Regions from separate parts of the Homo sapiens genome. Here all the other regions are linked to region 4. Evidence: promoter capture Hi-C in 16 types of primary human blood cells and fetal thymus (Javierre and others, 2016). All regions are on one chromosome and are shown on one strand. Each heading gives the region's core, a stretch centred on a gene start or on the middle of the fragment in contact. The rest is flanking DNA. Distances are from core to core; before and after follow the strand shown.

The links. Contacts are between HindIII fragments. The CHiCAGO score rates a contact against its expected background, and 5 or more counts as called.
Region 1: a fragment that was not itself captured here is called in contact with the fragment with the promoter of IFIT1B in region 4 in 1 of 17 cell types (megakaryocytes); the score reaches 5.1 in megakaryocytes.
Region 2: a fragment that was not itself captured here is called in contact with the fragment with the promoter of IFIT1B in region 4 in 1 of 17 cell types (M0 macrophages); the score reaches 6.0 in M0 macrophages.
Region 3: a contact is called between a fragment that was not itself captured here and the fragment with the promoter of IFIT1B in region 4, in 1 of 17 cell types (M0 macrophages). The highest score is 6.0, in M0 macrophages.

The regions. Positions count from the first base shown.
Region 1 is chr10:89,706,894-89,709,593 of GRCh38, forward strand. It overlaps KIF20B (kinesin family member 20B), which reads left to right. Exons shown (of 33, transcript NM_001284259.2): 3 at 2,274-2,360; 4 at 2,452-2,568. Among named protein-coding and RNA genes, the nearest start is that of KIF20B, 6.7 kb to the left of the region's middle. The HindIII fragment of the contact is 5,889 bases long and covers 1-2,700 here.
Region 2 is chr10:88,996,389-88,999,088 of GRCh38, forward strand. All of the region lies in intron 1 of FAS (Fas cell surface death receptor), which reads left to right. Among named protein-coding and RNA genes, the nearest start is that of FAS-AS1, 4.8 kb to the left of the region's middle. The HindIII fragment of the contact is 1,313 bases long and covers 617-1,929 here.
Region 3 is chr10:89,014,407-89,017,137 of GRCh38, forward strand. It overlaps FAS (Fas cell surface death receptor), which reads left to right. Exons shown (of 9, transcript NM_000043.6): 9 at 1-2,653. The coding sequence ends at 44. Among named protein-coding and RNA genes, the nearest start is that of FAS-AS1, 23 kb to the left of the region's middle. The HindIII fragment of the contact is 2,711 bases long and covers 33-2,731 here.
Region 4 is chr10:89,376,631-89,379,351 of GRCh38, forward strand. It overlaps IFIT1B (interferon induced protein with tetratricopeptide repeats 1B), which reads left to right and starts at 1,426. Exons shown (of 2, transcript NM_001010987.2): 1 at 1,426-1,510. The coding sequence starts at 1,506. It also overlaps a transcript of LIPA not described here. The HindIII fragment of the contact is 6,433 bases long and covers 1-2,721 here.

The DNA.
Region 1 (2,700 bases), core at 196-2,695, 330 kb after region 4:
TGCATATTCATAAATTTTAGAATCAGCTTGCCAGTTTCTACAAGACAGCATCTTGGGATTTTGACTGGGATTGCATTAAATCTGTGGATCAGTTTGGAGAGAATTGACATCTTGACAATATTGAGTCTTAATCCATGAACACAGTATTCTTCATTTTATTTAGGTCTTTAATGTCTTAGCAGTATTTTATACTTGTCAATGTAGAGGCCTTTCGTGTCTTTTGTCAAATATATTTATAAACATTTTATGTTATTTGATGCTATTGTAAATATTTTTAGTTGCTTTATTTAGGCATAATGAAACACTGCATATATTTTAGATACGCAGTTTGATAAGTTTTGACATGTGCATACACTTATGTAACTGTCACTACAGTCAAGATAGTGAGTATAACCATTACCCTCAAAAGTTTCCTTGAGGCTCCTTGTAAGTGCTCCCTCCCATCACACCTCCAAGTAACCTCTGATTAGCATTTTGTTAGTATACATTAATTTTTTGTAGATTTGTTGGATTTTGTATGCGTATGTTCATGTTGTTTCTAAATAAAGAAAATTTTATTTCTTCCTTCCCAATTTGGATGACTTTTGTCTTTTCATTTCCTTTTTTTCTTTCCATTTTTTTTTTCCTTTTCTTTCCCCTCCTCTCCCCTCCACTTCTTTCTTTCCCTTCTTCCCTTCCCTTTTACCTTTCTTTTTCCTTTCCTTTTCTCTTCCCTTTTTCTTTCCCTTACCCCTCCTTTTTTCTTCCCCCATCCCCTTTCCCCCTTCACACCCAATTACACCAGCTAGAACCTTTAATACAATGTTACTAGAAGTGGGGAAGCAGAAATCCTCTTCTTATTACTCATTTTGCTGCTCATCTTAGATTGAGTCTTTCCTGTTAAGTTTGTTGTTAGCGATAGATTTTTTGTAAGTGCCCTTTATCAGGATGAGGAAGTTTGCATTCATTACACTTTGCTGAGAATTTTTATTACAGATGGACGTTGGATTTTGTCAAATGCTGTTTTCCCATCTGTAGAGATAAAAGTTTCTCTTCATTTATTCTTTTAATATGGTTAATTGCCTGGATTGATTTTTGAATGCTAAACAGACTTTATATTCCTAGAATAAACCATTCTTGGTCAGATGTATTATCCTGTTTTATATATTGGCTAGTATTTTGTGTGGGAAATTTTGCGTATATCTTAATGTGGTATTTTGTTTTCTAATTTTTTCCTGAGGATATCTTTGTCAATTGTGTTATTCGGCTTATGTCAAACTCAAAATTAGTTAAGGTATTTTCTCTTCCTATATTTTCTTAAAGAGTTTATGTACAATTTGTATTTTTTTTTTTTTTGAGACGGAGTTCTGCTCTTGTTGCCCAGGCTGGAGTGCAATGGCGCCATCTTGGCTCACCGCAATCTCTGCCTCCCAGGTTCAAGCGATTCTCCTGCCTTAGCCTCCCAAGTAGCTGGGATTACAGGCATGCACCACCATGCCTGGCTAATTTTGTATTTTTAGTTGAGATGGGGTTTCTCCATGTTGGTCAGGCTGGTCTCGAACTCCCGACCTCAGGTGATCCACCCGCCTCGGCCTCCCAAAGTGTTGGGATTACAGGCATGAGCCACCGCTCCTGGCCTGATCATTTTCTTAAATGTTTGATAGAATTTACTGTTAAACTACTAGGGCCTGAATTTTTTTTTTTGTGGCATTATTTTGTTTGAAAATGGATTCAGTTTGCTTCATAGAAATTGGGTTATTCAGATTTTCTAGTTATGTCTGTTTTGATTAAGTTGCATTTATCAAGTTGTTTCCTTTTTACTTTTTTAAAAAAACATTAAAACATTTCTTTAAAATTACATTTTCTATGCACATTTCTTCCTCAGAAAAAGTAACAAGGAGAATGGTACATAGTAAAAAAATTCTGAATACCTCATGGAATTGAGCATTTGAATAATAGAATATTCTAGTTACTTTTGATTTATTCTAGAGTTATATTTTCCAATGACTTAGGGCCTCATTAATTATATTAGGCTTTTGTGGAATAAAGCCTTTTTATAAACTTCACGTATAAATACAGGAGATGGAGGAAATTGGATCTTTTTTGGTGTATTTTGTTTTTATTTAAATAGATTTATTGAGTTTTTCTAACATTATTAAAAGCAGGATAGTGACTGCTTAGAAATTCTTTATCATCTCAGATTATTATGTAAAAAGTAGCCATGTTAAGGAAAAATGGTCTCTGAAAAGCCGTATCTTTCAAAAACACAATGTTTTTCTCCTTTATTTTTTAAGGCAAACAGTTTCGAATCTAAAGATTATCTCCAGGTTTGTCTTCGAATAAGACCATTTACACAGTCAGAAAAAGAACTTGAGTCTGAGGTTTGTGTTGAATTTAATAGAATTTTAATATTTTACTTTCATTTAAAATGGCAAAATACTAGTTTTTATTTATTGGGGGTATGTTTTCTAGGGCTGTGTGCATATTCTGGATTCACAGACTGTTGTGCTGAAAGAGCCTCAATGCATCCTTGGTCGGTTAAGTGAAAAAAGCTCAGGGCAGATGGCACAGAAATTCAGTTTTTCCAAGGTAAAACTGAAGTGTTTTTGTTTTTTGTTTTAAAGATAAAGAGACTTGGCTTAGGCTAAATTGCTATATAATTGTATATAATGAACTATACATTTTATGCTTATGCAACTTAGATTTTAAGGATAAGACTCA
Region 2 (2,700 bases), core at 23-2,522, 380 kb before region 4:
TTTTGAATCCATAAAAGTAGAGAGTAGAATAGTGGTTACCAGAGGCTAGTTGGGGGCAAAGTTGGGGGATTTAGGGAGATATTGGTCAAAGGATACAAAATTTCAGTTAGGAGGAATAAGTTCAAGAGATCTAGTGTACAACTTGATGTCTATAGCTAATAACAATGTATTGTATACTTGAAAATTACTAAGAGTAGATTTTAAGTGTTCTCGCCACACACACACAAAAGAAAATGATAAGTATGTGAAGGAATGCCCAATGTAATTAGCTCGATTTAGCTAATTATCTTCCAAAATATGTACATAATTATCTTCCAAAATATGTACATAATTCAAGACATCATGTTATATACCATAAATATATATAATTTTTTTATTTGTCGAATAAAAATAATACAAAAAAACCCTGGGCCTATACTGCCCACAGGTAGTGGCCACAGGCAGAGCTGGTCCCAAGCCCCTCCCTCTCTCTGTAGTCCCTTATCCCAGGTTGCTTTATTCTTGTATGACCCACGTGGCCCCTCTGGGCTTGTAAGGGCTCTGGGGCTGTATTTTAGGACTCTATAGCCCTTACATTACCCATTTCCTCTACCAAAGGTCATTTCTCTTATCTTCAAGCTTATTTTTGGAAGGGTCATTATTTCTTCATGAGAAGTCAAATTCTGATTTGCAAGTGCTGAACACAGATGCCATTAGTCTATAAAACTCTTATATTCTCACATGTAAATGTAGTAACCTGCTAACCTCAGATTCTGCTTCCTCTAACCTAGTTGCCCTGCAACTGTGATGAACCTCAAAATCACCAAGGGTACTTCCCCATTCTCAGAGATCCTGATTCCTTAGGTCTATGTAGGGGCCTTAGCACTTTTTATTAAATAATGCATCACTACAGGATTCTGATGTCTGTCGGGGTCTTGAGAACTATTTTTCTGACTCTAGCACTAAACTCAAAATGTAATTTCAGATGGAATTTCCTAGGCTCATTCATTTTATTTTATTTATGGCTTGGCCAGTCATGGATCTAATCAGTAACTTGCAACTGTTGCTTCAACTACCTCTGTCCTGGACTTTCCAGAGATTGGCTTTAAGAAAGAAAGAGGACATCCCTGGGATAAGATTACCATGTGTATTTTTATGTACAGATTTTGAAAAACATACAAATGAATGGGATCTTTGCTTATCTCTTCCATGTAGAAAAATTTATTTTACTTCTATTTCAGGTTTTCAATAATGTAGTAGGACAAGATGACATCACTATATCCCTGTTTTTTACACAGATATATTAGAGATGCATTATCTTATTGGAAATTTTAAACTATTCAATAATAAACTATTAGTCTTTTAGAATTTCTTTTTCCTCAAGTGTTGATAAGTAACTGAAAGTCTACAAGCAGACAAGCAGAATTAGTCGGTGGAACTTCATTTCTTGCTCCATTTTTGTCCTCAGCAGTAGAGGGTGGTGAGATTTCAACCCAGCCTAGCAGGACCAATAAGTCTGGAAAGAAGTAGCTCTAGTTCATATTGGCACCTGCTAATTCTAGTTCTGAAGACCATGGGAAATCTCTTGCCTATTTAGCTCAGTGATCATCCAAGATGGGAAATTCTTGGGCTCAGCTGTGAGGGATCCCAAGTTTATATGTAACACTAATGTCTCACAAATCAAGAATCCAAGAGAATCAAGAGACTATAGTTCATTCCTTATATTAAATTCTTAGGACTGCCAACTGGGTGGCTACAGTTTTGGGGGCTAGAAGTCTGATATCAAGGTGCCAACTGGACTGGTTCCTTCTGAGGACCACGAGGGCAGGATCTGTTCAGGCTTGTAGATGGCCTTCTTTTCCATGTGTCTTCACATTATCTTCCTCTGTTTGTATGTGTGTCCAAATTTCCTCTTCTTTTTTTTTAATTTAGAAATTTATACTGTCTACAAGCTTTATATAGCTTTAGTTAAAAAAAAGCAAAAAAAAAAAAAAATCAAAACAAAAACAGTGAAGCCAAGACACTCTTCCAAAGTCTGGACCCTTCCGGCCTTCCAAATACAAGAGCTCTGGAAGTTGTATATACCAAATTTCCTCTTCTTAAAATGTCACCAGTCACATTGGATTAAGGCTTACCCTATTAACACCATTTTAACTTAATCACCTCTGTAAAGACCCTATCTCCTGATACAGTCACATTCGGATGCTCAGGAAGTTAGGGTATCAGTATCACTATATGAATTTGGGAGTTGGGGGAGGACACAGTTTAGCCCATGACAGTCCTGAATCTCCTTTGCTAGATGCATGACTGTGGGCCAGTCACTTCACCAGTTGGGATACTGCCATCTCTATCAGAAAAGGGGTTTGGGCTAGGTCATCTATAAAGTCCTTTCTGCTCTAAATTGTAAATATAATGAGATACCAACATTTAGTTTAATTGTTTAAAATTTTAGAAGCTAACTGGATGCTTTGCTGGTGTCAACACTCCCCTTTACAAAAAAAAATTCGGCCGGGCATGGTGGCTCACGCCTGTAATCCCAACACTTTGGGAGGCCGAGGCAGGCGGATCACGGGGTCGAGAGATTGAGACCATCTGGCCAACATGGTGAAACCCCGTCTCTACTAAAAACACAAAAATTAGCTGGGCCTGGTGGTGCACATCTGTAGTCCCAGCTACTCGGGAAGCTGAGGCAGGAGAGTCACTTGAACCCGGGAGGCGGAG
Region 3 (2,731 bases), core at 138-2,637, 360 kb before region 4:
CAGAAAATTCAAACTTCAGAAATGAAATCCAAAGCTTGGTCTAGAGTGAAAAACAACAAATTCAGTTCTGAGTATATGCAATTAGTGTTTGAAAAGATTCTTAATAGCTGGCTGTAAATACTGCTTGGTTTTTTACTGGGTACATTTTATCATTTATTAGCGCTGAAGAGCCAACATATTTGTAGATTTTTAATATCTCATGATTCTGCCTCCAAGGATGTTTAAAATCTAGTTGGGAAAACAAACTTCATCAAGAGTAAATGCAGTGGCATGCTAAGTACCCAAATAGGAGTGTATGCAGAGGATGAAAGATTAAGATTATGCTCTGGCATCTAACATATGATTCTGTAGTATGAATGTAATCAGTGTATGTTAGTACAAATGTCTATCCACAGGCTAACCCCACTCTATGAATCAATAGAAGAAGCTATGACCTTTTGCTGAAATATCAGTTACTGAACAGGCAGGCCACTTTGCCTCTAAATTACCTCTGATAATTCTAGAGATTTTACCATATTTCTAAACTTTGTTTATAACTCTGAGAAGATCATATTTATGTAAAGTATATGTATTTGAGTGCAGAATTTAAATAAGGCTCTACCTCAAAGACCTTTGCACAGTTTATTGGTGTCATATTATACAATATTTCAATTGTGAATTCACATAGAAAACATTAAATTATAATGTTTGACTATTATATATGTGTATGCATTTTACTGGCTCAAAACTACCTACTTCTTTCTCAGGCATCAAAAGCATTTTGAGCAGGAGAGTATTACTAGAGCTTTGCCACCTCTCCATTTTTGCCTTGGTGCTCATCTTAATGGCCTAATGCACCCCCAAACATGGAAATATCACCAAAAAATACTTAATAGTCCACCAAAAGGCAAGACTGCCCTTAGAAATTCTAGCCTGGTTTGGAGATACTAACTGCTCTCAGAGAAAGTAGCTTTGTGACATGTCATGAACCCATGTTTGCAATCAAAGATGATAAAATAGATTCTTATTTTTCCCCCACCCCCGAAAATGTTCAATAATGTCCCATGTAAAACCTGCTACAAATGGCAGCTTATACATAGCAATGGTAAAATCATCATCTGGATTTAGGAATTGCTCTTGTCATACCCCCAAGTTTCTAAGATTTAAGATTCTCCTTACTACTATCCTACGTTTAAATATCTTTGAAAGTTTGTATTAAATGTGAATTTTAAGAAATAATATTTATATTTCTGTAAATGTAAACTGTGAAGATAGTTATAAACTGAAGCAGATACCTGGAACCACCTAAAGAACTTCCATTTATGGAGGATTTTTTTGCCCCTTGTGTTTGGAATTATAAAATATAGGTAAAAGTACGTAATTAAATAATGTTTTTGGTATTTCTGGTTTTCTCTTTTTTGGTAGGGGCTTGCTTTTTGGTTTTGTCTTCCTTTTCTCTAACTGATGCTAAATATAACTTGTCTTTAATGCTTCTTGGATCCCTTAGAAGGTACTTCCTTTTTAACCTTAACCCTTTTAGTAGTTAAATAATTATTTCCATAGGTTGCTATTGCCAAGAAGACCTCTTCCAAACAGCACATGATTATTCGTCAAACAGTTTCGTATTCCAGATACTGGAATGTGGATAAGAAAGTATACATTTCAAGGGGTAGGTTTTATTATTAAGAAAGCCAAATGAGGATTTTGAAATATTCTTTCCTGCATATTATCCATTCTAGCTACATGCTGGCCAGTGGGCCACCTTTCTTTTCTGCAATTTAATGCTAGTAATATATTCTATTTAACCCATGAGTCCCAAAGTATTAGCATTTCAACATGTAAGCATGTCGGTAAGATAGTTGTGCTTTGCTTAGGGTTCCCTCCTGTGTTATGGTCTGGAAAGTGTCTTTAGGCAGAAAGTCTGAGTGATCACAGGGTTCACTCATTAATTTCTCTTTTCTGAGCCATCATAGTCTGTGCTGTCTGCTCTCCAGTTTTCTATTTCTAGACAGAAGTAGGGCAAGTTAGGTACTAGTTATTCTTCATGGCCAGAAGTGCAAGTTCTACTTTGCAAGACAAGATTAAGTTAGAGAACACCCTATTCCACTTTGGTGAACTCAGAGCAAGAACTTTGAGTTCCTTTGGGAGGAAGACAGTGGAGAAGTCTTTGTACTTGGTGATGTGGTTTTTTTCCTCATGGCTTCACCTAGTGGCCCCAAGCATGACTTCTCCCATGTCAATGAGCACAGCCACATTCCCGAGTTGAGGTGACCCCACGGTCCAGAATCATCCTCATTCTGGTGAACCTGGTTCTCTTTGTGGTGGGCATACTGGGTAGGAGAATCACCCAAAGGTCACCCATGAGCTGCAGAAAAAAAGGCTATTTGCAGAAGGAGCTCACAGATCACATTGAAAGCATTGCATATTCAAACATCTTGGTCTTCTTTATTGGCATGCCCACAGGGTCTTCTGACCTCTGATTAGATCAGACACTTTTTAGATATTGAATCATCAGTTTCTGTACAACTATCTGAATAAGGTATATAATCAATGAAATTTAGAATTTTTTTCTATGCTTACTCCTGATTGGTAATTTGTTTGGGTTTAGAATTCTATACAAGGCCATTTGTAATTTTCCTCAGCACTTTAAAAATATTAAACCATGTTTTCTTAACATCTGTTGCTGTTGATTATGTCTGCTCTTGGTGTAAATATCATTCCTTTGTAGGTAATCTGTAATTTTTTTTCCTCT
Region 4 (2,721 bases), core at 176-2,675:
GAGTGCAGACAAAAATACGAATATTTTCCAACTGGATTCGAAAATAATCAAGCAGCCCCTTAAACTGGCCAATATGAATGACTGCTGCTTCCTTTCAAATTACACCTGTCACCTTGGTCTAGTCTTCTCTTTTTCCAGACACAATTTAAGATACCCAATTATAGAATCATTTCTGCTTCCTGACAGCCTCCCATCCCATGCCCATGACCACACCTTACCACATGGGAGCCTGGGAAATATAGTCTAGTTACAGGCCCAGGACAAAGAAGAAATAGCACAGCGAGGCTACAGTTTCATTTGGTAATTATGAGAAGACTGTAATGAAGTTAATAACCCTACCTTGAAATGCTCACTCAGAGGGAAATCGCTCTCAGTCTTTGCCCTTTTGCTTATCTTGGTGCACTACCCCTACAAAACCAAGATCCAGAAACGTACAGGATGACATTGTAACAATTCACAAGAGGAATTCAGAATAGCAGCTTTCCAAATTTTCCTTTTTCTCTGCTAATTGTGTGGGCAATTACATCAGCCTTGGGATCATATAAATTTTTCATTAAACATGTGAACATTGTTTGATTGACTCTCTGATGGTTGTTGCTTTGTAACAGATAATCTTCAAAATAGTAGAAACAGAAGAAACATAAGGACAACTCAGAAGAACTATGTGAATTTGGATTTAGATTTTTAACCCCCATGACCCCATCACATTCTCTGACTACATTGCATATGTTTCTCTACTGACCAGCTCAAACATTGTTGTTTGAACCACTAATGGTGAACAGTAAAGATCATCAAAACAGTCAATATGCTTGAATAGGCTCCACTATAGCCAGGGTTGGCAGTAATGCAAATGCTGCTGGAGGATGTAACCAGTATGGGACCCTTCTTATAGACCAATATCTCAAAATTGAGGAGTTGTTTTGCCTAACACAGCCCCACAGAAGAAGACCTAACCATCTGCAACCTCATTCTTCCACAAATTGACAATGACTTTCTACAGTATTCTTTTAGGCACAAACCACTGACCCTGGTCTAAGGAGCTTCCATTGTAGACGTCCCTGGAACCACCTGGCGGGATACATGTGATAGTAACAAGTTTGACAACAGAGTCTGACATGATTCACAAAAATATACGTTCCTGTCTGCCACTGGTTTTTCCACAACACTGAATGTCATCATAAAGTCCAGTTACCCTCTATCTCCTACACCACATTGACTCCAGCAAGGGAATTTGCGTATCAAAACTGCTTCTCACACACCCATCCTCTTAGCTGCCAAAACTCAGCATGTATTTGTAATCAAAGCAGAGACAGCCCTATTCCTCTGTATCATTTTCACCCTGCCAATTCACTAGGCATCAAGGGTGTAAAAAACTGCCTGGATATACCTCCCATATATAAGCACCATGCTTATCTGAGAAGCCCTAGAACTCTGTGGATGAACCTTGAAGGAGCCTCCAAGCCTGAACCAAAGCACTACAGATCACCTGCTATCTTCATAGCACCATGAGGTAAAGTCTTTCTCTGCTTCACTGACCTTATTTCTGCACACTTTGAAATTCTAAAACTTTCCTTAAGGGCCAATTTTTTGACAGGCCTTCTCCTAAGGGAGCTGTCCCACTGGTGGTTCTGACCCTGATAGGCACCCTCAACATGATAACCAAGAAGAGTTTAATAAGGGGGCTATTTAAGACGATATGGGCAAAGTTTAGGGAAATCAACAGGAAATGGTGCTTGTTGGTTGCAGGGCAGCGGGAAGAGGCGTGTTGGTTTACAACAGTGGTAACATGATAACCCTGGGCCTACAGGAGCAAGAGGAGAGAACCAGACCCAAGGAGACTCTAAGCTATAGCTGTAGGGGAGGGGCTTCTCAAGAGGCCTTTGGTGAAAAAATCACTGACAACCTCAAGCAGAGCACAGTGGGAGCTTAGGAATTAATTCCATGACCTTCACCTCCTCCTGCAATTTAATATCTGGCTGGTGCTCCCCAGTGGGCCAACCCCAGTAGAAAGTAAAAAATAAAAGAGTTTTGGAGTTAATAAAGTCCATAGAGTCAGCTTCCAAGCACAGAGCATGGTGAAGAATGTAGGAAAGTAGATTCAGAGGGGCAAGATGAGAATATATGTAGAGGCAAGTTTCCTAACTCCTGTTACAGAGCTCGCTTAGTAAGGGTAGCTGGCTTAATAAAAGCAGCAATGCTCTTAAGGAAATAAACGAGAAAGCAATCTTATTTCCAAAGATGTCATTTCTGTAGCACTTTCTAATAGAGGGACAATTACCCAGGCAACACTTAAAGACTGTTCACCAGGGAACAGAGGCCTGAGCCTAGAGAGGAGACTGGCCCGGGGACCAGTCAGGGCAAGAGCATTGAGATCCTTTTAATATACAAAATACTCTTTTAGGCATCCAGGTGAGAAGAAGCAGCTATTTTTATTTGATAAATTGGTTAAATTCACGTGGGAAAAAGAAGCTACTTTCAGAGATGGCTGTTTTTCTGTTGTTTGTTTGTTTTTGATACCAAGTCAAATTTTGTGATTACTGTGAAACTATGAAATTGTGATTACTATGAAATTTGCTTTTCACTGAATTAACTGTTCTCAAAGTGTGGTCCCCTGACTAGCAACATCAGCATCACTTGGGAAGGTAGCAGAAATGCAAATTCTCAGGCCCTACCCTAAACCTGCTGACTCAGAAACTCTAGGGTGGGGCCCATCAATCTGTG